7 separate regions of the Homo sapiens genome follow, and regions 1, 2, 4, 5, 6 and 7 are each linked to region 3. Evidence: promoter capture Hi-C in 16 types of primary human blood cells and fetal thymus (Javierre and others, 2016). All regions are on one chromosome and are shown on one strand. The core of a region is centred on a gene start or on the middle of the fragment in contact, and the rest is flanking DNA. Distances in the headings are between cores, read along the strand shown.

Region 1 (4,028 bases), core at 965-3,464, 2.2 Mb after region 3:
TTTTCTGACACGAAACTTTTGAGAAAATATAATGGCTAAATTCCCGACAGTGTTTTAGTAGCTTTTTTTTTTTTTTTTTTGAGGCAGCATCTTATCCTGTTGCCCAGGCTGGAGTGCAGTGGTGTGATCATGACTCACTGCAGCCTCTACCTCATGGGCTCAAGCAATCCTCCCACCTCAGCCTCCCTAGCAGCTGGGACTTCAGGCATGTGCCACCATGCCAGGCTAAATTTTGTATTTGTTTATAGAGATGAGGTCTCACTGTGTTACCCAGGCTGGTCTCAAACTCCTGGGCTCAAGCGGTCCTCCCTCCTCGGCCTCCCAAAATGCTGTGGTTACAGATGTGATCCACTGCACCTGGCCAACAATGTCTTATAATAAATACAAAATAATGTATTTAGATAATATGGTCATTTTCTATAATAAACTCTTCATAAAAGCTGAAGGTACAACTTTAATGTTCAATCCAGGTTAGGTGATTTTGCCAGGGAAAAAGCTAACATGGTCCATGTATTTAGCCTTTTAGGAACCAGTGGAAAACACTAAGAATACCTGGTTCTACCACGGACCACAGCTATGTGTAGATAATCTTCCTCAGACACCTCCTCTCTCAGCTAAGCCCTTAATAGCAGTTGGATTGTAAAATCCTCTTTGAGGACAGCCCTGGTGTTTTGTGCTAATTGAAGGCAGATCTTCTTAGAAAGTCAGATTGTAAATATTTGTTTGTTTTGATAGAGGTGGAAAGAAAAGTGATGGGAAAAAGAAGAGACGAAGGGGAAAGTCAGGGTTAAAGTAATCTTAATCTTACGAATGCCTGTCAGACCCTGTCACCTGCCTGCAAGGCCTGCAACCCTGTGTGGAGCTTGGCCATTAGGATAGTGCAGTGTAGACAAAGCTGCATTTTTCTCAAGAGCTAGATTCATACTCATTTCAGCACTTGAGAATATGTGCATTTGATGTTCCATAATTCCTACCTTCCACAGTGTAAGAGACAGGGGAAACCAAAGTGTTTTCCTATTCACACAGCACTTACCACTCAGCTCAGCGCTTCTGACACCAGATGCTAGGGGTGGGGGATTCCCCACACACCAGCTGGGTATCCTATCATTTCCCTCAATTCTCACACTGTCTACCTGGAGTTAGAGTCAGATCCCATAAGTTAAAGGCTCAGTCCCACAAGATGGCCTGCACTCCAAATGCCAGTCAAAAGCACAGAGTTGTCTCTGCTGCTCCTGACTGACTGGCTGTATGTACATTGGGACTCCCATGACGCCCTCCTCAGGCTCCATTGATTTGCTAGGATGCCTCACAGAACTCCGGGAAACACTTCCGTTTACCAGTTTATTATAAAGGATCTTACAAAGGATGCAGATGAACAGCCAGATAAAGAGATGGACAGGGCAAGGCACGTGGGAAGGGATGCTCTCTTTGGCGTACCACCCCTCAGGAACCTCACATGCTCAGCTATCTGGAAGCTCCCCAGACCCTTTTGGGTTTTTATGGAGGCTTCATTACATGGACACGGTACATCACTGGCCATTGGTGATTACATCATTGGCCATTGGTAATCAACTCAACCTTCAGCCCCTCTCGCTTCCCTGGAGTTTGGGGGCTAGGGCTGAAAGTTCCAGCTTTCTAATCACAAGATTGGTTCCCCTGGCAACCAGCCCCCATCCTGAGGCTATCCAGGAGCCCATCAAGAGCCTCATTAGAACAAAAGATGCTTCTATTACCCAGGAAATTCCAAGGGATTTAGGGGCTCTGTGTCAGATGCTCCTAGCACTGAGGAAATTACAGTCTTAAGAATTGTGTGTTAGGAACTGGGGTCAAAGACCAACTATGAGAAAAGATTCACCTAACACCCCTATCTACTAGGATTTTAGGAGCTCTATGTCAGGAACTGAGGGCAAAGACCAAATATATATTTCTTATATTACAATATCACATTCAGCTATTGACAAATCTAAGGAAGATTCCCACAAAAAATGCAATTCAGAGGGGTATAGCTCCCAATCTCTGAGTTCCAGTAAGGCACTGAGAGAGACTGAAGGCAGAATTTTAAATAATTGATATAGGCAGGGCACAGTGGCTCATGCCTGTAATCCCAGCGCTTTGGGAGGCTGAGGCAGGAGGATTGCTTGAGCTCAGGAGTTTGAGACCAGGCTGGGCAACATAGGGAGACCCTGTCTCTATTAAAAAAAAAAAAATAGCCAAGTGTGGTGGTAGATACCTGTGGTCTCAGCTACTAGGGAGGCTGAAGTGGGAGGATCGCTTGAGCCTGGGAGGCTGAGGCTGCAGTGAGTCATGATCCCACCACTGCAGTCCAGCCTGGGTGATGGAGCAAGACCCTGTCTCAAAAAAAAAAAACCACCAAAAACTGATGGCCGGGTGCAGTGGCACGCCTGTAATCTCAGGACTTTGGGAGGCTGAGGTGGGTGGATCACTTGAGGTCGGGAATTTGAGACCAGCCTGACCAACATGGAGAAACCCTGTCTCTACTAAAAATACAAAATTGGCTGGGTGTGGTGGCACAAGCCTGTAATCCCAGCTACTCGGGAGGCTGAGGCAGGAGAAATGTTTGAACCCGGGAGGCAGAGGTTGTGGTGAGCCAAGATTGCGCTGTTGCACTCCAGCCTGGGCGACAAAAGCGAGACTCCATCTCAAAAAAAAAAAAAAAAATTGATTAATCTCGCACAGCTTTTATAAATCTATACAAGTTTGAGTAGTTCTTTCTCAGTTTCTCAGTGACAAGACTTTAATTCATTTTATTAGTATATTTCAGTAATCTTAAGAGGTACAGGGTGATACAGATTATTTTATGTTTAGTAACACTTAATATCAACTTTCTTTTTGATATGGCAGTTTAGACAAGTTTCCGGAAGTAGTTTATAGGCATACTTCTTTCTTTCTTTGTATTTTTGCTTTTGGGTTTTTTTTTTTTTTTTTTTATCTTAAACTCCTGGGCTTAAGCAATCCTCCAGACTACCAGCTTGAGCCATCACACCAAGCTATTTCTTTTTTTAGACTGAAAATAGGGACACAGATTCATCTACTCATCAAAGTGTCAGTTTCTCTGACTTCTGTTTGCCACAGCTCCTCGTGGAAGGGGTCAGGGCCGCCCTCGTCACTGTGGTCTGTCAGGATTGGTGGGAAGGGGATCTCCCCTCATCTGCTCTCAGTTTCCCACTAAACCACTTTTGGAGAATATTCCAAAAACATTCTTGAAATTTTCCTTGTACAATCTGAGATTTTATAACTTCTGCAAATTACTTTCCTTCAATGGATGAAGAAGGACATCAATGATGTCAGCACGTGAAATATTAAATATTATGCTAATACCTGAGCAGGGCCTTTGACAATTGTGGTATTTTTTGTTGTTGTCGTGATGGTGGTAAAATATATCTAAAGTTGGCCGGGCGCGGTGGCTCACGCCTGTAATCCCAGCATTTTGGGAGGCCAAGAGGGGGCGAATCATGAGGTCAGGAGATCGAGACCATCCTGGCTAACACAGTGAAACCCCATCTCTACTAAAAATACAAAAAAATTAGCCGGACGTGGTGGCGGGCGCCTGTAGTCCCAGCTACTCGGGAGGCTGAGGCAGGAGAATGGCGCGAACCCGGGAGGCGGAGCTTGCAGTGAGCCGAGATTGCGCCACTGCACTCCAGCCTGGGTGACAGAACAAGACTCCATCTAAAAAAAAAAAAAAATTATATATATATATATATATATATATATATATATATATATATATATAGTTTACCATTTGAACTGTTTTTAAGTGGTATTAAGTATATTCACATTGTAATGTAACCTTCATCACCATCCAGCTCCAGAACATTTTCATCTTTCTTTACAGAGACCCTGTCCCATGAAACAGTAACTCCTCACTTCCCCTTCTCCAGCCCGTGTGATTTATTATTTAATGGCACAGTTCCCTGAGAAGAAGGTAATGCTATTCTCATTTTAGAGATGAGGAAATCAAGCTGAGAAAAGTCACCCGAGGTCATACAGTTAGTAAGTGGCTGAAT
Region 2 (3,749 bases), core at 256-2,755, 2.2 Mb after region 3:
GACTTCAAAATTATTTCCGACAAAATTAGCCTACATGTCAATATTTCATTTATTTAATCAGTGGTATAGTTTTGAAGACAATGCCTACCAAAACAACTGGGATAGAAAATGTATTTCCTTTAAGCTTCTACAAGGCTCATCCAGAACAAGTCATCTTGCTGAGCCTTTAATCAACATCCATTATATTAAGAAAAGGCAGAGTCCCAAATCCCAGTAACAGTTTTGATCATACTCACACCAATTATATTTGGATGACTTAGCTCCTGTAATAATTTTATCTCTCTTAAGGCGGTTCTATTTATACCTATATAAAAAGGCAAAGCAAAAAGTGAATAATTCTGAAATCTCAAACCTTACAAACACTTCTTTTTTTTTTTTTTTTTTGAGATGGAGTCTCGCTCTGTCGCCCAGGCTAGAGTGTAGTGGCGTGATCTCGGCTCACTGCAACCTCTGCTTCCCGGGTTCAAGCAATTCTCCTGCCTCAGCCTCCAGAGTAGCAGGGATTACAGGCACGCGCCACCACGCCCGGCTAATTTTTGTATTTTTAGTAAAGGCGGGGTTTCACCATGTTCATCAGGCTGGTCTCCAACTCCTGACCTCGTGATCCACCCGCTTTGGCCTCCTGAAGTGCTGGGATTACAGGCGTGAGCCACCACACCCAGCCACAAACACATATTTTTAAAGAAAGGTTAGTAATCTCAGAAAATAGTGAACATTACCCACAAAAATAAGGGCTACTTTGACAATTTTTATGTCAAATCTGTTGTTCTTTTACATTGCTTTATTTTTATTTATTTATTTTTTTTGAGATGGGGTTTCACCCTGTCAGCCAGGTTGGAGTGCAGTGGCATGATCTCGGCTCACAGCAGCCTCCACCTCCCAGACTCAAGTAATTTTCCCACCTCAGCCTCCCGAGTAGCTGGGACCACAGGTGTGCACCTCCACGCCTGGCTAATTTTTTGTATTTTCGTTAGAGATGGGGTTTTGCCATATTGGCCAGGCTGGTTTCGAACTCCTGAGCTCAGGCGATCTACCCACCTCACCCTCCCAAAGTGCTGGGATTACAGGCGTAAGCCATGGCACCAGGCCAATATTGCTTTACTTTTAAAATAGCTTAACAAAGACTACGACAAATGGTGAAAAATATTTCACCTTATCTATACCAGGATCTGAACACCACTACTAGACTAACAACATATATAAGTGTGCAGCATATAGGTGATAAGCTTCCCTACTCTTGCCCTACAAATATTAGTGGCATATTGTTTGTGCTAAAAGCAAACTAGTGATAAGATAGTATATTTTCCAATACAAATGACAGATTTCAAAATTAAAAATTAGATACAGGCCGGGCGCGGTGGCTCGTAATCCCAGCACTTTGGGAGGCCTAGGTGGGCAGATCACTTGAGGCCAGGAGATCGAGACCAGCCTGGCCAAGGTGGCAAAACCCCATCTCTACTAAAAATACAAAAAATTGGCTGGGCATGGTGGTGTGCACCTGTAATCCTAGCTACTCAGGAAGCTGAGGCAGGAGAATCGCTTGAACCCGGGAGGTAGAGGTTGCAGTGAGCCGAGATTGCGATACTGCACTCCAGCCTGGGCAACAGAGCATGACTCTGTCTCAAAAAAAATAAACAAAATAAAAATAAGATATAGTATTGGCACTTACACAGACAATGGGTCTCTTTTGTAAGAGCTATTTTATGATGAATCCTAATAAATAAGACTTTGGAAGAAAGTTTAATGAAATAATTTCCTCATGTATCTATTCCATAGTAAGCTTTATGTACTTTCATGAAAATGTATCCTGAATTTTCAAAGTAATTAGAAACTCAGAAACAGAAAAAACAATGGCTTGTAACACCTAAAACAGTAATGAAGACAGAAAGACAAACTAATTAAGCTTGCTGCCTTCCATTTATGTGGGTGATTTGGAATGTTTCTCTGAATATCCAGTAAGTAAAAATCACCAAATACTCCTTCTCTATGCTGAGTCTATCTTTACTCTTCGGGGACCCTGCAGTAACTCTATCCAGAACCATTACTAACTTATTAATTCATACTTTGCTCGTTTCTTCAGTGAGAATGAAAACTTTATGCTGGGCATGGTGGCTCAAGCCTGTAATCCCAGCACTTTGGGAGGCCGAGGTGGGAGGATAGCTTGAGGCCAGGAGTTTGAGAGAAGCCTGAGCAACACAGCCAGACCTCATCTCTACAAAAAATAAAACATTAACCACAAGTGGTGGCACATGTTTACAGCCCTAGCTACTCAAGAGGCTGAGGTGGGAGAACTGCTTGAGTACCTAAGTTTGAGGCTGCAGTGAGCTACGATTGTGTCTCAGTACTCCAGCCTGGGTGACAGAGCAAGACCCTGTCTTTTTAAAAAAAAAAAAAAAAAAAAAAAAAAAAAAGGAGAAAACTTTTCCTATCTGTCAGATTACATGAAATACTTACCATCTTTAGCTTCTGATCTATGTCCAAGTTTGATCTGGTAGAAACGGAAAAAAACCCAAATATATTAAAAATGTGTTAAATTATTTAGAATCAATGAATAATGTGTAAATACTTCAAATACTTCGCCACAGAAAAAAAAACAATTAGCAACCAATATGTACCTACTAGGCAAAAAGAGAGTAGGAATCATGATCAGAAAGATAAAATTAACAATATAAGAGAGAATCAAATACCTACCCTTGTCCCTTAAGTTTCTGAACTACACATTCAAATAATAAAATTAAGAAAAATCTATTTTACCTTTTCAAGGTTCAATGTGGACCAAATAACTAAGGGTACCCTGATTAAAAATAAATACGTAACTTCAAATTAGGCTACTTGGGAGGAAAGATACAGAAAATAACATGCTGTAGAGTTGGTAATAAGCCCAATAATATGCTCTTAGACACCACATTTTTCAAAAAGCAAAATTACAAATTGTGATGGTTAAAATGTTGTTACTCTGAATAAACATAACAAATTACATTAACAGGTTTAGTCTTACACAAAATAAATTACCTGGGTAAAGAACATTCTCTCACTGCTTTTTAGAAAACTGTCAGTAATCAAGAAAAGACTGGCGGGGTGTAGTGGCTCACACTTGTAAATTCCAACACTTTGACAGGCCAAGGTGGGAGGATCGCTTGATCCCAGGAGTTTAAGACCAGCCTGGGCAACATAGCAAGACCTTGTGTCTACTCAACATTTTTAAAAATTAGCCAGGAGTGGTGGCACGTGCCTACAGTCCCAAGTACTCAGGAGGCTGAAGCAGGAGGATTGCTTGAGCCCAGGCTACAGTGAGCCATGATCACACTGCTGTACTCCAGCCTAGGCAACAGAGAGAGACTGTCTCAAACAAACAAAAAAACAAAAACACAAGTGGCTCATGCCTGCAATCCCAGTATTTTGGGAGGCCTGGGTAGGAGGATTGCTTGAGTACAGGAGTTAAAGATCAGTCTGGGCAACATAGCAAGACCCCGTCTCTACAAAAAATGTAAAAAGTTACTGGGGCATTGGCTGGGTGCGGCGGCTCATGCCTGTAATCCCAGCACTTTGGGAGGCCGAGGCAGGTGGATCACGAGGTCAGGAGTTCAAGACCAGCCTGGACAATATGGTGAAACCCCGTCTCTATTAAAAAAATACAGAAATTAGCCAGGCATGGTGGCACACGCCTGTAGTCCCAGCTACTTGGGAGGCTGAGGCAGAAGAATCGCTTGAACCCAGGAGGCGGAGCTTGCAGTGAGCCGAGATCGTGC
Region 3 (4,153 bases), core at 1,415-3,914:
CCCCCCTCAAAACAAATAACCAACTTACAGAACAAAGCTTAGTCAACCTAATTTGAATTACTAAGTAACAAAGTAATAATTTATAATTAATTTCTATATAAAATTTAAAAAAATTTTAATTCACTCTGACATTTTAAACTGGTCTAAACTACCGGCATTTTACTTTACTTATCAACCCGAGGTCAGTCAAATCAAATATGCAAAACTCCAAACCTCTGAAATATCTGTATTGCAGTATTTGAAGAAAAACATTTAGTTACAGTAGCCAAACCCAATTCCCTTTGAGGCAGAAATCATTTATCTTTTGTCAGGTACAACTCTACTTATACAGCCATCAGAATAAACTTCAGTCAAAAAAAGTACTCAGTCACCCCAAATTGCATATTAGGTATGGTATACCTCAGATATAAGTATTTCAGGAATGGTCTATAAATGCAACTTAAGTCAAGAAAAGAGGTGGTATAAGTCAATAATTAAAAACAGTCTACTTTTTTCCTATTTTATAATTACTTATAAAAAATTAGAAAATGCCTTAACTTATAGAATAACCTTTCCAGGAAGACTTCAATTTAAATTCGTATCTTAGCTGTTATGGATACATGCATTATCTGCATTTCACCCAATTATGTTGAATGCATAATGACAGAATATATATCCTATAGAGTTTTACAACTAGCAAAGACCCACAAAAAAATAAAAAGAGGCTGGGCACGGTGGCTCACACCTGTAACCCCAGCACTTTGGGCTGAGGCAGGTGGATCACTTGAGGTCAGGAGTTCGAGTCCAGCCTGGCCAACATGGTGAAACCCTGTCTCTACTGAAAATACAAAAATTAGTTGGGCGTGGTGGGGCACGCCTGTAGTCCCAGATACTTGGGAGCCTGAGACAGGAGAATTGCAAGAACCCGGGAGGTGGAGGTTGCAGTGAGCCGTACCACTGCACTTCAGCCTGGGCGACAGAGCAAGACTCCATCTAAAAAAAAAACTAATTAAAAAAAAAAAAAAAAACCACTTTCCCAGAGTCAGTAATGGCAAAAAAAGTGACTAAAAAACAAATTATATTCCCCAAACGTAAATGTCAACTCAAAAAAAAAAATTAAATATCCTTGACCATAAATATCTCAAAACTACAATCTTTGGGCAATTTATTAAATTATCAACCATCACGCACTCACACATAATTAACGAAATCTCTGAGAACTTTATTAATGTAACAGCGACTAGTATCGGTATCTCCTTTCTGTGTAGAAATTTTGAAACAGATTCATGTAATAAACTTGGAAATTACTAACCATCACTGAACTATCAACGTAACACCATACACTCAGCACCAGTTCAGGCCAATAGAGGAAGATGTTCCAAAAATAAATAAATGTTTCACCTTCCTATCACAGCATAAACAGAATTTGTACTATCTCACTTCACTTAACAAGGCTGTTTACTGATTTCCTCATATATATAGAAACAGAGACCATCTTAGCCTAACATGTCTTAAATTTACTCCATCACCTTTCTAAAAAACTAGTAACTTTTTGCGGGCAACTATTCTGCTATATCCCCTGCAAGGTAGTTAATATGAATTATCTCCAATCTGCACCAAAACGCTCCAAGTAGGCAATATTATTCCCATTTTGCAGATGAGCAAATTCTGCCTGAGAAAAGTTTACCTGTAGACTAAAAGAGTCCTGAATCCAAATATGATACATGACGCTAAAGCCATGCTTCTCTATTCAGGAAACACGGTCACCATAGTTAAAGAGGCACACTTCAATTAAGTGACCAGAACTCTTACTCACTGACATAAATCGGTAAAGCCAAAGCAATACTTATCTTCTCCTTTAAAAAATAAATATTTTATAAATTGAAAGACAAAAACACTTCCCTGCAAAGCACTCCAGAAGGATGAAAACTATAGTGACCTAAATTCTCAAATGAATAGTGTGGATATTCTTCACTTCAGGACTGCCATACCCCGATTCTCCCTACCACCACTTGAAGACATGGTCTCCTCTCGGAGAATCTATAGACCGTGACAAAATCCACACAAGCCACACCCTGCAGGTCAGACAACTAAACTGCAGTTTGGAGTGGTTTCATCAAGCCTCAACTGAAAGGCTTACTGCAAACGAGAGCGGACTCCTGTGATAAAATTCATTTGCTCAGCTTCCAGGTGACATGCCCGGAGAGGCGGGACAAATGAAAATTCTTCCCTCTGCAACCTCTTACCTGCTCCTAGGAGCCTTTTCTTGGGGCTCCGCTCCACCGAAATCGACTGTGGGCACATCTGTGGGCTCCGCGGGCTTGGAAGCAGAGTCCGTGGCAGGATCCGGCGGCCTGGGAGACTCCCGTCCACGCTGGGGATTGGAAGCTGTGGAGCCCCTGGCGCCTACACCAGGCCTGACATTCGGCTTCACGCTAAGGCGTGCCCTGCGGAACATGGCGGAGGCAGGGGGCCCGGGGAGGCAGCCTCACGGCCGCTCACAGCCCCGAGCCCCGGCGGCTGCCCGGAAAGGGGATTAGGAACTACGCCCTCCCCACAAAGCCACACCACCAGCTCAGGGGGCAGCTACCGTAGTTTCACTGCCCCGCCGCCGCCTCCTCCTCTCTCCCGCCGCCGCCGCTTTTTCATGACCCTGCCACACACCGATGGCTAAATTTCACCCTCCTCCCAGCATCCCCGCGCTCACAGGACGCCGCAACTGATTGCGCCATCAGCCAGCGCCGCAGAATGACGTCAGACGCACAGCACTGGGAGCCATGGTAACTACCAAGCTACTGAGACTGGGTTACCTGCGGACCAGAAATTGAGATGCAGAGATATTTGCTCTTTCTTCTCCAGGAGTCCTTAGGAGTAGTTGAAAAGAGGAACAGAAGAAAGTCCACTTCTCTGCTCAAACCTTTACTGGAACTATTAAAATCGCTGGCCGATTTTGTCTTTTGAAGATCCTGAAGGGTTTAGAAATTCTAAATTGAGTAGACATAGATTAAAAATGCTGGTGTGAAGAAACTGATAATAGTTACCTCCCAGGAGAGGAATGTGTTTCTGGAAAACACGTCGTGGTAGGAAGACCATTTACCGTACGCCTTTGTGTACTTTTTTGTTTTTGTCCTTTGAGACAGGGTCTTGCTCTGTCGCCTAGGCTGGAGTGTGCAGTTGCGCGATCTTGGCTCACTGCAGCCTCCACCTCTCGGGCTCAGGCGATCCTCCCGTCACAGCCTCCCAAGTTGCTGGGACCACAGGCACGCGCCACGACACCCGGCTAATTTTTTTTTTCTCGTATATTTAGTAGAGACGGGGTTCATCATGTTGCTTAGGCTGATCTTGAACTCCTAGGCTCAAGCGAGCCACCCATTTGGCCTCCCAAAGTGCTGGGATTACAGACGTGAGCCACCACGCCCAACCTCCTTGTGTACTTTTTAATATGAATGTATCACCCGAGATCGTACCACTACACTCCAGCCTGTTTAAAAATTATTATAGTTGAAACCTTGTAAATTATTGTGAGTGTTCTTAATCTGCTTCAGGAGGTAGCAGTAAACAAGACGTTCTGGATTTGGGAGGAGAAAATACAAAAAAGAAATGAACAAGATATTTTTAAAATGTATCAGGCCCGGCGTGGGTGCCTCATGCCTGTAATCCCAGCATTTTAGGAGGCTAAGGCAAGGCAGATTGCTTGAGGTCAGGAGTTCGAGACCAGCCTGGCCAACATGGTTAAACTCCATCTCTACTAAAAATACAAAAATGAGCCAGGCCTGGTGGTGCAAGCCTGTAATCCCAGCTATGGGAGGCTGAGACAGGAGAATGGCTTGAACCCTGGAGGTGGAGGCTGCCGGGAGCCAAGATGGCACCACTGCACTCTAGCCTAGGCAACAGAATGAGTGAGACTCTGTCTTAAAATAAATGAATTAATTAATTAATTGCAATAAAATAAAGTATATCAAATGTCATGAAATAAATTTAAGGGTTGAATGCCGGGTATGGCGAGGCACGCCTATAATCCCAGCTACTGTGGAGACTGAAGTGGGAGGATCTCTTGAGCCCAAGACTTCCAGACCAACCTGCTCAAAATATTGAGACCCCTAAAACAAATTACCTACATGCGGTGGCTGTGATGGCTCCCACCTCTAGCTCCAGCTACCTGGAAGGCTGAGGC
Region 4 (3,968 bases), core at 999-3,498, 2.1 Mb after region 3:
AGTTCTTTCTCTTGTATCTACTTCTTAATGGTTGTCATATTTTGAGTATGTATTAATTTTAAAATCAGAAAATAAGCTGGGGCTGGGCATGGTGGCTCACTCCTGTAATCCCAGCACTTTTGAGAGGCCAGGGCAGGCAGATCGCTTGAGCTCAGGAGTTGGAGACCAGCATGGGTAACATGGTGAACCCTGTCTCTAAAACAAAGAAAAAAAAATTAGCTAAGGATAGTGGTGCTTGCCTGTAGTCCCAGCTACTAGATGGGGAGTGCCTGAGGTTGGAGGATCGCTTGAGCCCAGAAGGTCAAGGTTGCAGTGAACCATGTTTGTACCACTGGACTCCAGCGTGGGCAAAAAAGTAAGACGCTGTCTCGAAAAAAAAAAAAAAATAAGCTGGGCATGGTGGTGTGTGCCTGTATTTCTAGCTACTTCGAAGGCAGAGAGGACAGGATTCCCTAAACCCAGTAGTTCAAGACCAGACTGGGTAACATAGCTGTAGATAGAGCCTCTTCTCAAAAAAAAAAAAAAAAAAAAAAACCACCATAACACAAAACACAAAATCAGAAAATTTAGAGACAGGAGTGTGGTGGCTCACGCTTGTAATCCCAGCACTTTCGGAGGCTCAGGTGAGAGGACTGTCTGAGCCCAGGAGTTTGAGACCAGCCTGAGCAACACAGTAAGACCCTGTCTCTACACACACACACAGAAAAAAAAGAAAAAAAGAAAATAACTTTAGAAACAATTGGTGCTATATTATCAGCAGAAAAATCAGATTTGCTACTGAAGCTTCATTATAAACACTGAGTTGGTTACATTAACTTTAGCATAGTTATGAAGAAAAGTCACATAAAATAATGTCAGGCAATTAGGGATAAAAGTAAACTTTCTTTTCTTAATTCTAAGGAAATACTATAAACATAAACATTTTAAGTCAAATGGTCTTACATTCCAGTCACCACTGAGGATATCTGCAAAACTCAGAAATTCACTGGCTCTCACAATATCATCAATTTCCATGAAGAAATCTATGTAGTTTTGGTGAAGATATAAATTAAATAAGTCTCCAGGCATGTGTGACATTTCTACTACCTCCTATAAAAAGAAGCATATATACATAAATTTGGTAAAAATGCAATGGTCAAATATATATGCACACGAATAATATATCCTTTGTAACCTATACTAAGTGTCATCAAAGAACTTACCTCAGGTTCAACAAGTAATGTATCCCGTTCATATTCTGATAAATGAGAGGGCAACCGAGGTGAGTCTAATTCTGTTAAAGATGCTCCTATAAAAAATTTCTGGAATTATTAAAGATAATACCTTCTTTATAATTATATAGCACCTCTCATTTGAAGAGTTTGAAAATTTTAGACATACAATACCAACATAGTAACAAACTGTTAAAAAATAATAAATAAATAAAAAACAACTGGAAGCAAGCACCTATTTTTTCCACATTAGCAAGAACTAAATTAACAATTCTGATGCTTAGATTATGGCTTCTCTAGACTTAAAATATTCCATTTCCTAATGCACTCCCATTTCACCTTTTTCAGCTTTGGGTTGCTTTCTTCCCTTGATTTCTCATCTCAATACAGTGGTCTTTACTCTTTTATTTACTATGTAGGAAGATGTTGCTCTCTACATGAAAGAATACGAATTCCATTCACTAATGCAAGAGACGATAAACGTATGTTGGGGAGGAAAAGAAAGGAGAGAAAGAAAAGAATCAGGTGGGAATAGTCACTCAGGTTCAAAGTAAGAGGATCCAGTGACAGAGGAGTGTCCTCACTGCCACCTAAGTGATGCCCATTTTCCTCAGATGGTATGAAGGTTTCCATTTAGAAATCCTAATTTCTTTCCTTTAGGGTCATCAGACTGAAAACAGGCATTTGCTATCAAAAGGAGGGATTATTTGGGACACTAAAATGGGCAATAGGGAGTGAAAGAACTGAGGGGGAGCAGTCATCAAAAAAGACAGAAAAGGCGATAAACATCTCTGGTTGGGGAGACAGAACGCTTGTAAATTAGAGAAATACAAGACGATTGAAAGAAACCTTAAACTACCTGGTAATTTGTATAAGGCTCTGTTGGCTGGAGCCCAGTGTTAAGAGGGCTTTAGGCTACCAACACTTGCCACTACAAGTCTAGATGATCTGCTCTCTTACCTTCAGCAAACTATAATTTTAAAGATTTACACACATGGATATGGCCTGCAATTGCATGTTTTTACTTTTAATCCTGCTTACGGTCAGAAAATATTCTGATTTCCTACTATGTCTTAGGCCTAGGCAAACAGTATCTGACCTAGCTCTAACTCTTAGAGCAGAACCAAAATACATGACATTTTTTTAAAAGTGACATTTTATTTCCATTTTAAGACTATGTGATATCCAACAGATTTTAAAAGTGTAAAAATTTCTTACTTTTACAATATAGAATTTTCCCCAAAGCTCTGAAGAGAAACAGAGAAACATCTTTGCCACCAATAGCTTGGACCTCTTGATTTTCAAAAACCCTATCAGGTTTTTTTCTTCGTTTTGATTTTGACAGCACAGCATCTGATTTTAAAGACATTCCTTTTTTCCTTGGCCGTAAGTTGTTTTCTCCTGAATAATATACATCCAAGTGACAATATTTAAATTAAAATATGAAAATTAAAACTAAGAACACTTCAGATATAGTTACACTAAATATTCTAATTACAATTTGTTTTCCTAATAAACAAAAATTATAAATGACATTAACTGAGTTGGAATCCTCTTTGGGTTACTAACATTAAAATGGAATAAAGTATTATCTGAAAGTTATTTCATAATGCAGATTTCAAACTTTCACATGCACAATAGCACAATCTCTAATATAGGCTGACATTCCTGATCCAAAAAATTCAAACTCCAAAATACTCCAAAATATGAAACTTGCAGTGCCAACATGATGCTCAAAGGAAATGCTCATTGGAGCACTTTGTATTTCAGATTTTCAGACAAGGGATTTTCAATTCGTATAATGCAAATATTCCAAAATCTTAAAAAAATCTGCAATCCTTCTATTCCCAAAAATTGCAAATAAAGGATATTCAACCTGTACAGTCACATCGCCTTGGTTTCTCATCGTGTTATGTGCAAGATACTGTTCTTGGCATGTAATACATAGGAATTTAATCTTCATAACAACCCTGTGAAGGGAGAATTTTTTTTTTTTTTTTTTGAGATGGAGTCTCGCTCTGTTGCCCAGGCTGGAGTGCAGTGGTGTGATCTCGGCTCACCACAACCTCTGCCTCCTGGGTTCAAGCGATTCTCCTGCCTCAGCCTCCCGAGCAGCTAGAATTACAGGTGTATGCCCGGCTAAATTTTTGTATTTTTAGCAGAGATGAGGTTTCACCATGTTGGCCAGGCTGGTCACAACCTCCCAACCACACAAATTGGCCTCCCCAAGTGCTGGGATTACAGGCATGAGCCACCATGCCCGGCCTTTTTTTTTTTTTGACACAGGGTCTGGCTCTATCACCCAGGCTGGAGTACAGTGGCACAATCATAGCTCACTGAAGCCTCAACCTCCAGGCTCAAGTGATCCTCCCACCTCAGCCTCTCAAGTAGCCGGGACTACATGCACCACCATGCTGGCTATATATATATATATTTTTAATTAGAGACGAGGCCTCGCTATGTTGCCCAGGCTGGTATCAGACTCTTGAGGTTGAAGCTTTCTTCCACCTCAGTCTCCTATAGTGTTGGGATAACAGGCGAGAGCCACTGCACCTGACCAATTATTATTAGACAGTTAATGAAATGAGATACAAAGAGGTAAAGTCATTGGCTCAAGGTCATCAGTGAGTGAATGACTGGAATCCAGGCAGCCTGGTTCTGCAATCTATGTTTAACAACCTCTCTATTGATGTTGAGAGTATCCAATTTATGAATATGCATGTGATCACATTTCTTGGGTTTTTATTTTTTTTCCTT
Region 5 (4,136 bases), core at 830-3,329, 2.2 Mb after region 3:
AGCTCACAAGAGTTTACTCTGGCTTAAAAAGGGCCATGTCACACTCTCTTGCTGATTGGCATTGCTTGATTGTAATTTGTTTCTGTTTTCTTTACCGTTTATTACTCCTGATATCGAACTGCTGGGCCTTTGCTTCAAGTTGAGATAACTCAAAAATTCAGAAATATTTGAAATGTAAGCCACTCATATCTTTCCCCCAAAATTACATTACGGGCGGGGCGCTATGGCTCACGCCTGTAATGCCAGCACTTTGGGAGGCTGAGGCGGGCGGATCACTTGAGGTCAGGAGTTCGACACCAGACTGGCCAACATTGTAAAACCCTGTCTCTACTAAAAATACAAAAATTAGCCGGGCGTGGTGGCGGGCGCCTGTAGTCCCAGCTACTCAGGAGGTGAGGCAGGAGAATTGCTTGAACCCAGAAGGCAGAGGTTGCAGTAAGCCGAGAGTGTGCCACTGCACTCCGGCCTGAGCGACAGAGGGAGACTCCGTCTCAAAAAAAAAAAAAGTTACATTACGTTCTGTGATAATGCTTAGGTTATATATAGTATTGTAAGCTTGACCAATGTGTTTGATGATATACATCAGTGATTTCTAAGTCTTGGGATCTTTTTAGAAATATAAATTACTGAACCCAGGTATGGTCTATTGGGATTCAGTGACTACAGAGAGGCCATTAACCCGTTTTGTTTTGTTTTGTTTTTGTGGTTTTTTTTTTTTTTTTTGAGACGGAGTCTCGCTCTGTTGCCCAGCCTGGAGTGCTGTGGCGTGATCTCAGGTCACTGCAACCTTTGCCTCCTGGATTCAAGCAATTCTCCAGCCTCAGCCTCCCCAGTAGCTGGGATTACAGACGCCCGCCACCACGCCTGGCTAATTTTTGTATTTTTGGTAGAGACAGAGTTTCACCATATTGGCCAGACTAATCTCCAACTCCTGGCCTCAAGTGATCCACCCACCTCAGCCTCCCTAAGTGCTGGTATTACAGGCGTGAGCCACTGCGCCTGGCCCCATTTTAATTATTTTCAAATGTGCAGTTCAGTCACATTAAGTACATTCACATTGTTGGGCAATTGTTACCATCTTCAGAAACTGTACCCATTAAACAAAAACTTATTCCTCCTTCCCTCAGCCTCTGACAACTATCATTTTACTTTCTGTCTATGAATTTGACTACTGTGGGTACTTAATGTACGTGGAGCCATAACAGTATTTGTCCTTTTGTAATTAGCTTGTTTCACTTAGCATGTCTTCAGAGTTCATTCATGTTGTAGAATGTGTCAGAATTTCTTTTTTAAGGCTGAAAAAATCCCATTATATGTGTATACCACATTTTGCTTATCCATTCATCTGTGGTAATTCTTTTTTTTTTTGAGACAGAGTCTTGCTCTGTCACCCAGGCTGGAGTGCAGTGGTGCCAACTCGGCTCACTGCAAGCTCCGCCTCCCTGGTTCACACCATTCTCCCACCTCAGCCTCCCAGGTAGCTGGGACTACAGGCACCCGCCACCACACCAGGCTAATTTTTTTTGTATTTTTAGTAGAGACAGGGTTTCACTGTGTTAGCCAGGATAGTCTCCATCTCCTGACCTCGTGATCTGCCCGCCTCAGCCTCCCAAAGTGCTGGGATTACAGGTGTGAGCCACCGTGCCCAGCCGATAATTTTTTTTTTTTTTTGAGACAGAGTCTCGCTGTGACACCCAGGCTGGATGCAGTGGCATGATCTCAGCTCAATGCAACCTCTGCCTCCTGGGTTCAACTGATTCTCCTGCCTCATCCTCCTGAGTGGCTGGGATTACAGGTGCCCACCACCACGCCCAGCTAATTTTTGTATTTTTAGTAGAGACAGGGTTTCTCCGTGTTGGCCAGAATGATCTCAAACTCCTGACCTCAGGTGATCCGCCCACCTTGGCCTCCCAAAGTGCTGGGATTACAGGTGTGAGCCACCGCACCTGGCCCAGTTCAATGCTTTTTAGAAAATTTTCATTTGAGACTCCTTTGACCTATGCCTCATTTAAAAGTGTGTTCAGTTTCCAAGTATTTGGAAATTTTCCTGTTATCTGACTGTTACTGATTCCTCATTTGATTCCCTTGTAGTCAGAACACAGTCTGTATAATTTCAATTCTTTTATATTTGTTGATATTTTGTCATCCAGGATATGGTCTATGTTGTTTATGTTCTGTAAGCACTTGAAAAGAGTGTTCTGCTGTTGTTTGGTGGAGTATTCTATAAATGTTGATTAGCTCCTCTGTTAGTCCATGTGTGCTACTGTAACAAAATACCTTAGTATGGGTAATTTATAACCACAGAAATTTATTTCTCATGTTCAGGAGGCTCAAAAGTCTAAGATCAAAGTACCAGCAGTTTCGGTGTTTTGTGAGGGCTCAGTCTTTTCTTCCAAGATGGTGCTTTGAACACTGCTTCATCCGAGGGGTTTAACACTGTGTGCTCACATGGCAGAAGGGCAGAAGAGAAGGAACCCATTCCCTCAAACTTTTTTTTTTTTTTTTTTTGAGACAGTCTTGTTCTGTCACCCAGGCTGGAGTGCAGTGGCACAATCTCGGCTCACTGCAACCTCCATCTCCTGGGTTCAAGCGATTCTCCTGTTGCAGCCTCCCAAGTAGCTGGGATTACAGGCGCCCTCTACCACACCCAGCTAATTTTTGTATTTTTAGTAGAGATGGGGTTTTGCCATGTTGGACAGGCTGGCTTTGAACTCCTGACCTCAGGTGATCGGCCCACTTTGGCCGCCCAAAATGCTGGGATTACAGGTGTGAGCCATTGTGCCTGGCCCTCAAACCTTTTTTTAAGGGCCTTAATCTCATCCATGATGGTTCTGTACTCATGATTTAATCATTTCCAATACCTTTTCGTATTGTCACATTAGCAATTTTCAATAGATGAATTTTGAAGGACACAGTCAGACCATAGCTTACCGCCTTTGGCCCCCCAAATTTATGTCCTACTCACATGCAAAATACATTTATCGGACGCTTGTTGCTCACACCTGTAATCCCAGCACTTTGGGAGGCTGAGGCAGACGGATCACTTGAGGTCACGAATTCCAGGCCAGCCTGGCCAACACGGTGAAACCCTGTCTCTACTAAAAATAAAAAAAATTAGCTGAGCGTGGTGGTGTATGCCTATAATCCCAGCTACTTGGAAGCCGAGGCATGAGAATTGCTTGAACCTGGGAGGCGGAAGTTGTTCACAGTGAGCCAAGATCGTACCACTGCACTTCAGCCTGGGGGACAAAGGGAAACACTGTCTCAAAAGACAAACAAAAAAAACCCAAAAATACATTTATCCATCCCAGTAGCCCCAAAAGTCTCAACTCATTCCAGCACCAACTCAAAACTATAAAGTCCAGAGTCTCACCTAAATCAGATATGGATGAGACTCAAGGCCATGACTCATCCTGAGGCAACTTCTCCTGCAGCTGTGAGCCTGTGAAATCAAATACATGTGCTTCCAAAACACAATGATGGGTCAGGAACAGGACTGACATTCCCATTCCAAGAGGGAGAAATAGGCAAGAAGAAAGGAGTAATAGGTCCCAAGTAAGTTAAAAACCCAAAAGGCCAACAACATTAACTCTTGAAGCTTGAGAATAATTCTTGACTCAGTATCTTGCCTTCAGGATGCATTGGGCTGGGGGTTGGACCCCCAAAGCCCCGGGGCAGCCCTACCCCATGGTTTTGATGGGCACAGTTCCAACCCAGCAGCTCTCAGCAGTTGAAGAGAGGTACCTGGGCTCTCTCAGGCAAGTATTGCATGCTGATGGCTCTACAGGTCTGGAGTCTGCCCTCCATACAGGGGTGGCCCTGCCATACAGCTCTGTAACAGCCTTTTATTGTTAGCCTTAGATAGCAGACAACTACCACTGAGGTTTTTTGAGATGGAGTCTCGCTGTCACCCAGGCTGGAGTGCAGTGGCACGATCTCGGCTCACTGCAAGCTCCGCCTCCCGGATTCACGCCATTCTCCTGCCTCAGCCTCTGGAGTAGCTGGTACTACAGGCGCCCGCCACCACACCCAGCTAATTTTTTGTATTTTTAGTACAGACAAGGTTTCACCGTATTAGCCAGGATGGTCTCAATCTCCAGACCTCATGATCTGCCTGCCTCAGCCTCCCAAAAGTG
Region 6 (4,168 bases), core at 1,321-3,820, 2.1 Mb after region 3:
ACCTTTCTTTTTTCACTTACTATATTTGAAGATTATATCATCTCAGTACAGACCTCCCTGTTCTTTTTTTTAGTTGAGATAGATATACATATCATACAATAAAATTTACCATTTTGAAGTGTATAATCAGAACCGGGTATGGTGGCTTATGCCTGTAATCCCAGCAAATGGGGAGGCTGAGGTGGAGAATCGCTTGAGGCAGGAGTTCAAGACCAGCCTGGGCAACATAGTGAGACCTTAGACTCTAAAAATAAACATAAATAAAATTTATAATCCGTTGGTTTTTAGCTTATTAACAAGGTTATGTAACTGTCACCACTGTGGAGGAAGCAGTGATGATAAAGGGAACTCCTATACCCTTTAGCAGTCACTCTCTATTCTTTCCTCCTCATCCCCTTGCAGTCACTAGTCTACTTTCTGTCTCTATGGATTTGCATATTCTGGATATTTCATATAAATGGGATTATACAGTATGTGGCCTTTTGTGTCCAGTTTCTTTCACTTAGCATAATGTTTTCAAGGTTCATCTAAGTTATAGCATGTACCAATATCTCATTCCTTTTTATGGTTGAATAATATTCCATTATATGGATTTACCACATTTTGCTTATGTTTCCATCACTTGCACAATTGGGTTGTATCCACTTTGGGTATTGTGAAGTTGAATACATAATAGTAGCATACTATGAGCATTCATGTACAAGATTCCATGTGGATGTATGTTTTCAGTTTTCTTAGGCATATACCTGGGAGGGGAATTGCTGGGTCATAGGGCAACCATGTTTAACTTTTTGAGGAAATGCCAAACTGGTTTCCAAAGTGGTTGCAGCATTTTATGTTCCCACCATCAATGTATTAGGGACTCAGTTTCTTCACATTCTTGCTAACACTTGTTACGGTCTATATTTGTTGATTTTTACCATTTCAGCGATTTTTATTAGGCTAAGTGTGTGTGTATGTTCTGTAACTTACTTCACTTGCAGGCATGACAGGGTGAGGTCTGTCTCTCTACATGGGCCACTCCCGGGGTCTGGTCACAATATACCACCACAGGGGGCAAAGCTTCAGTCCTAGACCACCAGTTGGGATTTCCTCCTGCAGCTGCTTAACCTCTCACTCCTGGCTTTGCCTCAGCAGTTTCTTCCACTGCTCTCTCTTGGCTAAGTAATCAGGGTACATTGCCTTCTCAGAAGGATTCCAGTCATCTAAGCACCACTCCAGAGACTTGTAGCATATCACTCGTATCTCTCATAGGAAGTACCCCCAGAGAGTCAGGGAAGAGAATGGCTGTGAATGCTGACGATACCAGAATTCCTCTGCCTCCCTCAGCAGTGGGGTAGCCTCCATCATACCCTTTTTTTTTTTCCTATGCTCTTCAAACCAGGCTCTCATCAAACAGGCAAAATATACCATTATTTATCTCTGGATGCACCATGGCTTGAGGTGGTACAGCGCCTGGTTACAAAGCAGCAACACCTTCTGGTGATAGGTCAAGTAGGCCCTCCAGCATCGAGAACACCATGACTGCTTGATCCCATCTTTTTTTTTTTTTGAGACGGAGTCTTGCTCTGTCGCCCAGGCTGGAGTGCAGTGGTGCAATCTCGGCTCACTGCAAGCTCCACCTCCCGAGTTCACGCCATTCTCCTGTCTCAGTCTCCCAAGTAGCTGGGACTACAGGCGCCTGCCACCACGCCCGGCTAATTTTTGTATTTTTAGTAGAGACGGGGTTTCACCATGTCAGGCAGGATGGTCTCGATCTCCTGACCTCGTGATCTGCCCACCTTGGCCTCCCAGAGTGCTGGGATTAGAGGCGTGAGCCACCGCGCCTGGCCTTTTTTTTTTTTTTTTTTTTTTTTTTTTTGAGGCAGTCTCACTCTTGTTGCCCAGGCTGGAGTGCAATGGCGTGATCTCAGCTCACTGCAGGTTCAAGGGTTCAACCTCCACCTCCCAGGTTCAAGCGATTCTCTTGCCTCAATCTCCCAAGTAGCTGGGATTACAGGCATGCACCACCATACCCGGCTGATTTTGTATTTTTAGTAAAGACAGAGTTTCTCCCTCGAACTCCCAACCTCAGGTAATCTGCCCGCCTCAGCCTCCCAAAGTGCTGGGATTGCAGGCGTGAGCCACCTTGCCTGGCAACTCCCATCTTTTTTATTATAACTATACTAGTGGGTGAGTAGTATATCACATTTTGGTTTTGATTTACATTTCTCTAATGATTTATGATGAGCATCTTTTCATGTGCCTATTGGTTTATCTTCTTTGGATCCCTCATCTTTTTAATGTTTGCATAAAATGGCATTAATGAGGCTAGGCCCAGTGGCTCATGCCTGTAATCCCAACACTTTGGGAGGCCGAGGTGGGTGGATCACCTGAGGTCAGGAGTTTGAGACCAGCCTAACCAACATGGTGAATCCTTGTTTCTACTAAAATACAAAAATTAGCCGGGCGTGGTGGTGGGTGCCTGTAATCTCAGCTACTTGAGAGGCTGAGGCAGGAGAATCGCTTGAACCGAGGAGGTGGAGGTTGCAATGAGCCGAGATTGCACCATTGCACTCCATCCTGGGCAATAAGAGTGAAACTCCCATCTCAAAAAAAAAAAAAAAAAAAAAAAGCCATTAATGATATGCCAAGTACCCAGGCACTGTGGCTCACACTTGTAATCCTAGGACTTTGGGAGGCCAAGGCGGGCGGATGACTTAAGCCCAGGAGTTTGAGACCAACCTGGCCGACATGGTGAAACACTGTTCCTAAAAATAAATAAATAAATTAATTAATTAAGTAAATAGGCCAGGCCGGGCGCGGAGGCTCACGCCTGTAATCCCAGCACTTTGGGAGGTCGAGGCAGGCAGATCACGAAGTCAGGAGATTGAGACCATCCTGGCTAACACGGTGAAACCCCGTCTCTACTAAAAATACAAAAAATTAGCCAGGCGTGATGGCAGGCACCTGTAGTCCCAGCTACTCGGGAGGCTGAGGCAGGAGAATGGCATGAACCCGGGAGGCAGAGCTTGCAGTGAGCCGAGATAGTGCCTCTGCACTCCAGGCTGGGCCACACTCTGTCGCAAAAAAAAAAAAAATAGGTCAGGCATGGTGGCTCACTCCTGTAATCTCAGCACTTTGGGAGGCCTAGGTGGGAGGATCACTTGAGCTCAGAAGTTCGAGACCAGCCTGGGCAACATAGTGAGACCTCGTCTCTATTTAAAAAAAAGAAAAAAGAGGCTGGGCATAGTGGCTCATGCCTGTAATCCCAGCACTTTAGGAGGCCAAGGCAGGTGGATCACTTGAGATTAGGAGTTCGAGACCAGCCTGGCCAACATGGTGAAATCTCGTCTCTACCAAAAATACAAAAACTAGCCAGGCATGGTGGTGCATGCCTGTAATCCCAGCTACTCCGGAGGCCGAGGCAGGAGAATCGCTTTAACTCAGGCAGCGGAGGTTGGAGTGAGCTCAGATTGTGCCACTGCATTCCAGCCTGGGCAACAGAGTGAGACACTGTCTCCAAAAAAATGAATAAATAAATAAAAATAAAATAATAGCCCAGAGTGGTGGCATGCACCTATAGTCCCAGCTACTCAGGAGGCTGACGCAGGAGGATCACCTGAGCCTGAGGAGGTCGAGGCTGCAGTGAGCTGTGATTGAGCCACTGCACTCCATCCTGGGCGGACAGAGTGAGAACTTGTCTCAAAAAAAAAGACATGCCAAGTTTGATTTAATCAGTCCTCTCACTAATGGACATTTAGGCTGTTTCCAGCTTTTTACTATTACAATGATGCAAGAATAATAAAGAGTAAATATATTACTATGACATAAACTTCTAAACACATTTCAAAAGTGAATTCTTTATCCACATGACCACTCTCTGAGGTAGATGTTATTATTATTTCCATTACAGGAACCAAGGCACAGAAGAGTTAAGTGGCTTATCCAAGATAATAGCTAAAAAGTATTAGCTTCAGTGTTCTATCTTAGGCAGGCTTTCACTCACTAAGTTGTGTTCCCTAATGCATATGCGTTATGCATATGAGCAAGTTTATCTGTTGAGTAAATTCCCAAAGACAAATTGTACGCAAGCTTAACATTTAGTAGACTAATTTTTTTTCTTTTTTTTTTTTGAGACAGGCTCTTGCCATGTCACCCAGGCTGGAATGCTGTGGCACCATCATAG
Region 7 (3,526 bases), core at 1-2,500, 2.1 Mb after region 3:
TGTTCAGCCCTCCGCCCCAAATCGTTCACGATTAGAGACTGTGACGTTTCAAAAGGTATACAGGTGGAAAAAAAACACCTATTTGAGTAAATATAGTTTGTAGCTCGAAATAAAAGATGCAGACCAGGGGCCGGACGCGGTGGCTCATGCCTGTAATCCCAGCACCGTGGGAGGACGAGGCGGGCGGATCATCTGAGGTCAGGAGTTTGAGACCAGCCTGGCCAAAACATGGTGAAACCCCGTCTCTATTAAAAATGCAAAAATTAGCCGGGCGTGGTGGTGGGCGCCTGTAATCCCAGCTACTCTGGAGGCTAAGGCAGGAGAATCACTTGAACCCAGGAGGCGGAGGTTGCACTCCAGCCTGGGCGACAAGAGTGAGACTCCGTCTCAAAACAAAACAAAAACAAACAAACAAACAAAAAAAGGTGCAGACTGTTGTCACGGTCAGGTCTCTATTCACTCTTGAAAACAAGATTGACAATTACCTCCTTTAAAAAGCAGATAACTGTCCCTGAAGATGCGAGGTTACTGAAATGAGATGTCAGAGGTAGACCTTCAAGACTATTCCTAGCCGACCCACCACCACCCCACACAGTGAACAGGGAATACTAAGCTCAAATATTCGTCCAACGTAATCCTGTAATCAGTGGGGTGCCGGGTTGAGCTCGCAAATCCCCGCTGCAGGACAGGGCTCTGCACCCTCAATCTTCTCATCCCCAGATGGGATGGGCGGGTCGGGAGGAGGAGCGACGAGAGCCCAGGAAAGCTTGAAGGCAGAGATAGACTCACGTCTCTAAGACATATACATAATATAGCCGCAACCGCGGCGGCCTTACTTTCCCGGAGCTGCATCCCCTTTTAGGCGAAGAGCGGAGGCGACCAGGGACTACCCTAGGTGAAAGGGCAGCCACCTGGCCCTACCCGGGCTCAACGCCGAGCCTCTCGGAGGTACGGCCTCCCGGGGACCTTCCAGACTGGTCGGCGCAAGCGAAGGGCGGGGACCACCGAAGGAGTGTGTGACTTAGGCATCCAGCGCACTGCCTGACCCGAAGTACCGACCCGAGTTATGCCCACCCTCCAACTTTGCGACGGAAATGTGTCATCGAAAGCCAGGTAACCAGTGGGCCGCGGCTGGGCCGCCGGGGCAGGCTAGGGGCGCCGCGGTGGGCTTCGGGGCCTTTGGGGCCGTGGGCTTTTGCTGCCGCCCGCCCCTTCCGGCTCCTCCCTGTAGAGCAAAGGGCACGTGAGCGAGGCGCCCGAAGCCGTCGCGGCGGGGACCATGTTGCTTCCGAACATCCTGCTCACCGGTCAGGGCGCGCGGCCGGGAGGGACTGGGCTGGGGCAGGCTGGGGGCGCAGAGTGCTCTGGGCATCGGGCGCCCAGGTGGGGGCCCCTCACTGCCCTCTTCAGAGGCCGGCCGAGGGCCACGAGGCGGTTGTCAGCGCCCCGGGAGCCGACCCTCGCGGGCGTTGCGGGAGGCGAGGGAGGGGACGCGGAACGTTAATTCCGTTGGCCTGAGGCTCCGGGGGGGGGCGGGGGGGGGTGGAGAGAGGTCGGCAGATCCAGCTCTCCAGCTTGGCAACCTGCTTAGTCTTTCTGAATCTGGTATTTCGTTTGTAAAATGGGTTGTTGATTCTTTGGCAGGGTTGGCCTTGGGATTTTTAGCGAAATAACGTAAGGCCATATCTGCTTCCCGGTAGAGTCATTAATGGTGGATGCCTCACTCCTTAGGCCTCCGTGGGCCGTATTTTATTTTTTCTTTGCTTCTGATAAACGCCTCAGATTAGATTTCGGTAAACGAGTTCAGATGTTTGTGACGTGACGAAATTGCTGTATGCTTTTGTTGAGTTACATCAAAGGATCCCCCCGCCCCTTAAAAGGAAGGCATATAGAGCATTTCGGGTCGTTTCTCGCGTAGGAGTGGGTCTTTGAAGCCATACTCAGGGTGCATGTTATCAGTGAAGGGAATTAAAATGCTGCATAACGACTTTAACGAATATTTTTGCTAGCCGTTTAGTCCTGAAAGTGTTTATCAAATTGTAGGCCATTCGTGGAAAAATCTAATGCATGTAGATTTTATTGCAAGGTACAGAAAAATTAAGACTCTTTGTGGGAACAGTAAAGTTACATCATTCACCCAAAGGTAAAATTGTTGGCAGCGCACAAGACATGTCTGTTTCTGAGAGGTGCAGATTAACCACCCCACAAATAACGTTTAGAATTTTAGATTCCTTAAGCGGAAGATTTTACATCTTTTTGCATGGATCAAACATAGTGCCCTGGTTATTAAGTCATTGTCAAAACTTTAAAGTGAACATTTTATTGAAAACATGTTGAGTCCAGGGTTCAGACTTGGTGTATTATAGTGGACTTGAGGTGACCGTTATTCTCCTGGGTATGGGAACTGGATTATCCCTGTTATCTTTATGCTTAAGTTTAATTTCAGGGATGTTAAATCTGAATAGCTGAAAATTATGAATTTGATGATCTTGAAATGTAATTTTAATAGGTATCAGAAGGGGAAGGTAAAGAACAATGTATATAGTATTGTCATTTATGTAAAAGGGAATATGTGTTGTATTTATATAACAAAGAGTATGTACATATATGTACATTTACATGCAAACATAAATAGGGTTTCTTTGGGAAAGGAAACTGGTTTACAGTGGTTATCTCTAGGGAAGGGCGCAAGGGGTCAGTAGAGGTAATTTTCAGACTGCTTAATTTTAACATGAACAGTTTTGTTTTTGTTCTTGTTTTTGTTTTTGTTTGAGACAGAGTCTCATTATGTTGGCCAGGCTGGTCTCGAACTCCTGCGCTTAAGCGATCCTCCCGCCTTCTCCTCCCAAATTGCTGGGATTACACGCGCGAGCCACCACACGTGGCCATGAACAGTTTTTAAATCTTTATAAGTTAAAGCAAATAGGCCAGGTGGGTGGCTCATGCCTGTAAATCCCAGCACTTTGGGAGGTGGAGGTGGGGAGATCGCTTGAGCTCAGGAGTTTGAGCTTAGCCTAAGCAACATAGCCAAACCCCGTCTCTACAAAAATTAACCAGGGCATGGTGGTGCATACCTGTGGTCCTAGCTACCGGACAGGCTGAGATGGGAGGATTGCTTGAGCCCAGGAGGTAAAGGCTCTAGTGAGCCAAGTTCCACTGCACTCCAGCCTAGGTAACAAAGAGATATCTTGTCTTTAAAAAAAGAAAAAGGTAAATAAATTATTGTAATTGATTCGAGGTGGCTAATTTTTTTTTTTTTTTTTTTGAGATGGAGTCTCTGTCGCCAGGCTGGAGTGCTGTGGCGCGATCTTGGCTCACTGCATCCTACAACTACCTGGTTCAAGGGATTCTCCTGCCTCAGCCTCCTGAGTAGCTGGGATTACAGGCACGCGCCACCACGCCCGGCTAATTTTTGTATTTTAATAGAGATGTAGTTTCACTATGTTGGCCAGGATTGTCTCAATCTCCTGACCTTGTGATCTGCCCGCCTCGGCCTCCCAAAGTGCGGTGATTACAGGCATGAGCC

Evidence for each region. The method cuts DNA at HindIII sites, captures the fragments that hold promoters and counts their contacts. A CHiCAGO score of 5 or more calls a contact.
Region 1: a fragment that was not itself captured here is called in contact with the fragment with the promoter of BDP1 in region 3 in 1 of 17 cell types (naive B cells); the score reaches 5.3 in naive B cells.
Region 2: a fragment that was not itself captured here is called in contact with the fragment with the promoter of BDP1 in region 3 in 2 of 17 cell types (total CD4 T cells and naive B cells); the score reaches 8.0 in total CD4 T cells.
Region 4: a contact is called between a fragment that was not itself captured here and the fragment with the promoter of BDP1 in region 3, in 4 of 17 cell types (naive CD8 T cells, naive CD4 T cells, total CD4 T cells and 1 more). The highest score is 6.0, in naive CD8 T cells.
Region 5: a fragment that was not itself captured here is called in contact with the fragment with the promoter of BDP1 in region 3 in 2 of 17 cell types (naive CD4 T cells and total CD4 T cells); the score reaches 5.8 in naive CD4 T cells.
Region 6: a fragment that was not itself captured here is called in contact with the fragment with the promoter of BDP1 in region 3 in 2 of 17 cell types (naive CD4 T cells and M1 macrophages); the score reaches 5.8 in naive CD4 T cells.
Region 7: a contact is called between the fragment with the promoter of TAF9 here and the fragment with the promoter of BDP1 in region 3, in 10 of 17 cell types (naive CD4 T cells, total CD8 T cells, non-activated CD4 T cells and 7 more). The highest score is 18.2, in naive CD4 T cells.

Annotation. Positions count from the first base shown.
Region 1 is chr5:69,285,915-69,289,942 of GRCh38, reverse strand. All of the region lies in intron 10 of CCDC125 (coiled-coil domain containing 125), which reads left to right. Among named protein-coding and RNA genes, the nearest start is that of CCDC125, 45 kb to the left of the region's middle. The HindIII fragment of the contact is 4,874 bases long and covers 1-4,028 here.
Region 2 is chr5:69,251,157-69,254,905 of GRCh38, reverse strand. It overlaps CDK7 (cyclin dependent kinase 7), which reads right to left. Exons shown (of 12, transcript NM_001799.4): 3 at 2,455-2,488; 4 at 237-304. Among named protein-coding and RNA genes, the nearest start is that of CDK7, 18 kb to the right of the region's middle. The HindIII fragment of the contact is 554 bases long and covers 1,229-1,782 here.
Region 3 is chr5:71,454,162-71,458,314 of GRCh38, reverse strand. It overlaps BDP1 (BDP1 general transcription factor IIIB subunit), which reads right to left and starts at 2,664. Exons shown (of 39, transcript NM_018429.3): 1 at 2,226-2,664. The coding sequence starts at 2,437. RefSeq lists enhancers at 1,877-2,802, 2,803-3,729. The HindIII fragment of the contact is 8,261 bases long and covers 40-4,153 here.
Region 4 is chr5:69,390,475-69,394,442 of GRCh38, reverse strand. It overlaps RAD17 (RAD17 checkpoint clamp loader component), which reads right to left. Exons shown (of 19, transcript NM_133338.3): 13 at 2,430-2,612; 14 at 1,203-1,288; 15 at 943-1,089. Among named protein-coding and RNA genes, the nearest start is that of RAD17, 23 kb to the right of the region's middle. The HindIII fragment of the contact is 2,925 bases long and covers 786-3,710 here.
Region 5 is chr5:69,213,235-69,217,370 of GRCh38, reverse strand. No RefSeq gene overlaps it. Among named protein-coding and RNA genes, the nearest start is that of KGD4, 2.5 kb to the left of the region's middle. The HindIII fragment of the contact is 3,043 bases long and covers 558-3,600 here.
Region 6 is chr5:69,347,289-69,351,456 of GRCh38, reverse strand. AK6 (adenylate kinase 6) reads left to right here. Exons shown (of 5, transcript NM_016283.5): 5 at 1-473. It also overlaps the pseudogene NDUFB9P1. Among named protein-coding and RNA genes, the nearest start is that of CCDC125, 17 kb to the right of the region's middle. The HindIII fragment of the contact is 3,012 bases long and covers 1,065-4,076 here.
Region 7 is chr5:69,367,244-69,370,769 of GRCh38, reverse strand. TAF9 (TATA-box binding protein associated factor 9) reads left to right here and starts at 1,250. Exons shown (of 3, transcript NM_003187.5): 1 at 1,250-1,307. AK6 (adenylate kinase 6) reads left to right here and starts at 1,250. Exons shown (of 5, transcript NM_016283.5): 1 at 1,250-1,307. The coding sequence starts at 1,280. RAD17 (RAD17 checkpoint clamp loader component) reads right to left here and starts at 952. Exons shown (of 19, transcript NM_133338.3): 1 at 837-952. RefSeq lists an enhancer at 149-698. The HindIII fragment of the contact is 4,867 bases long and covers 769-3,526 here.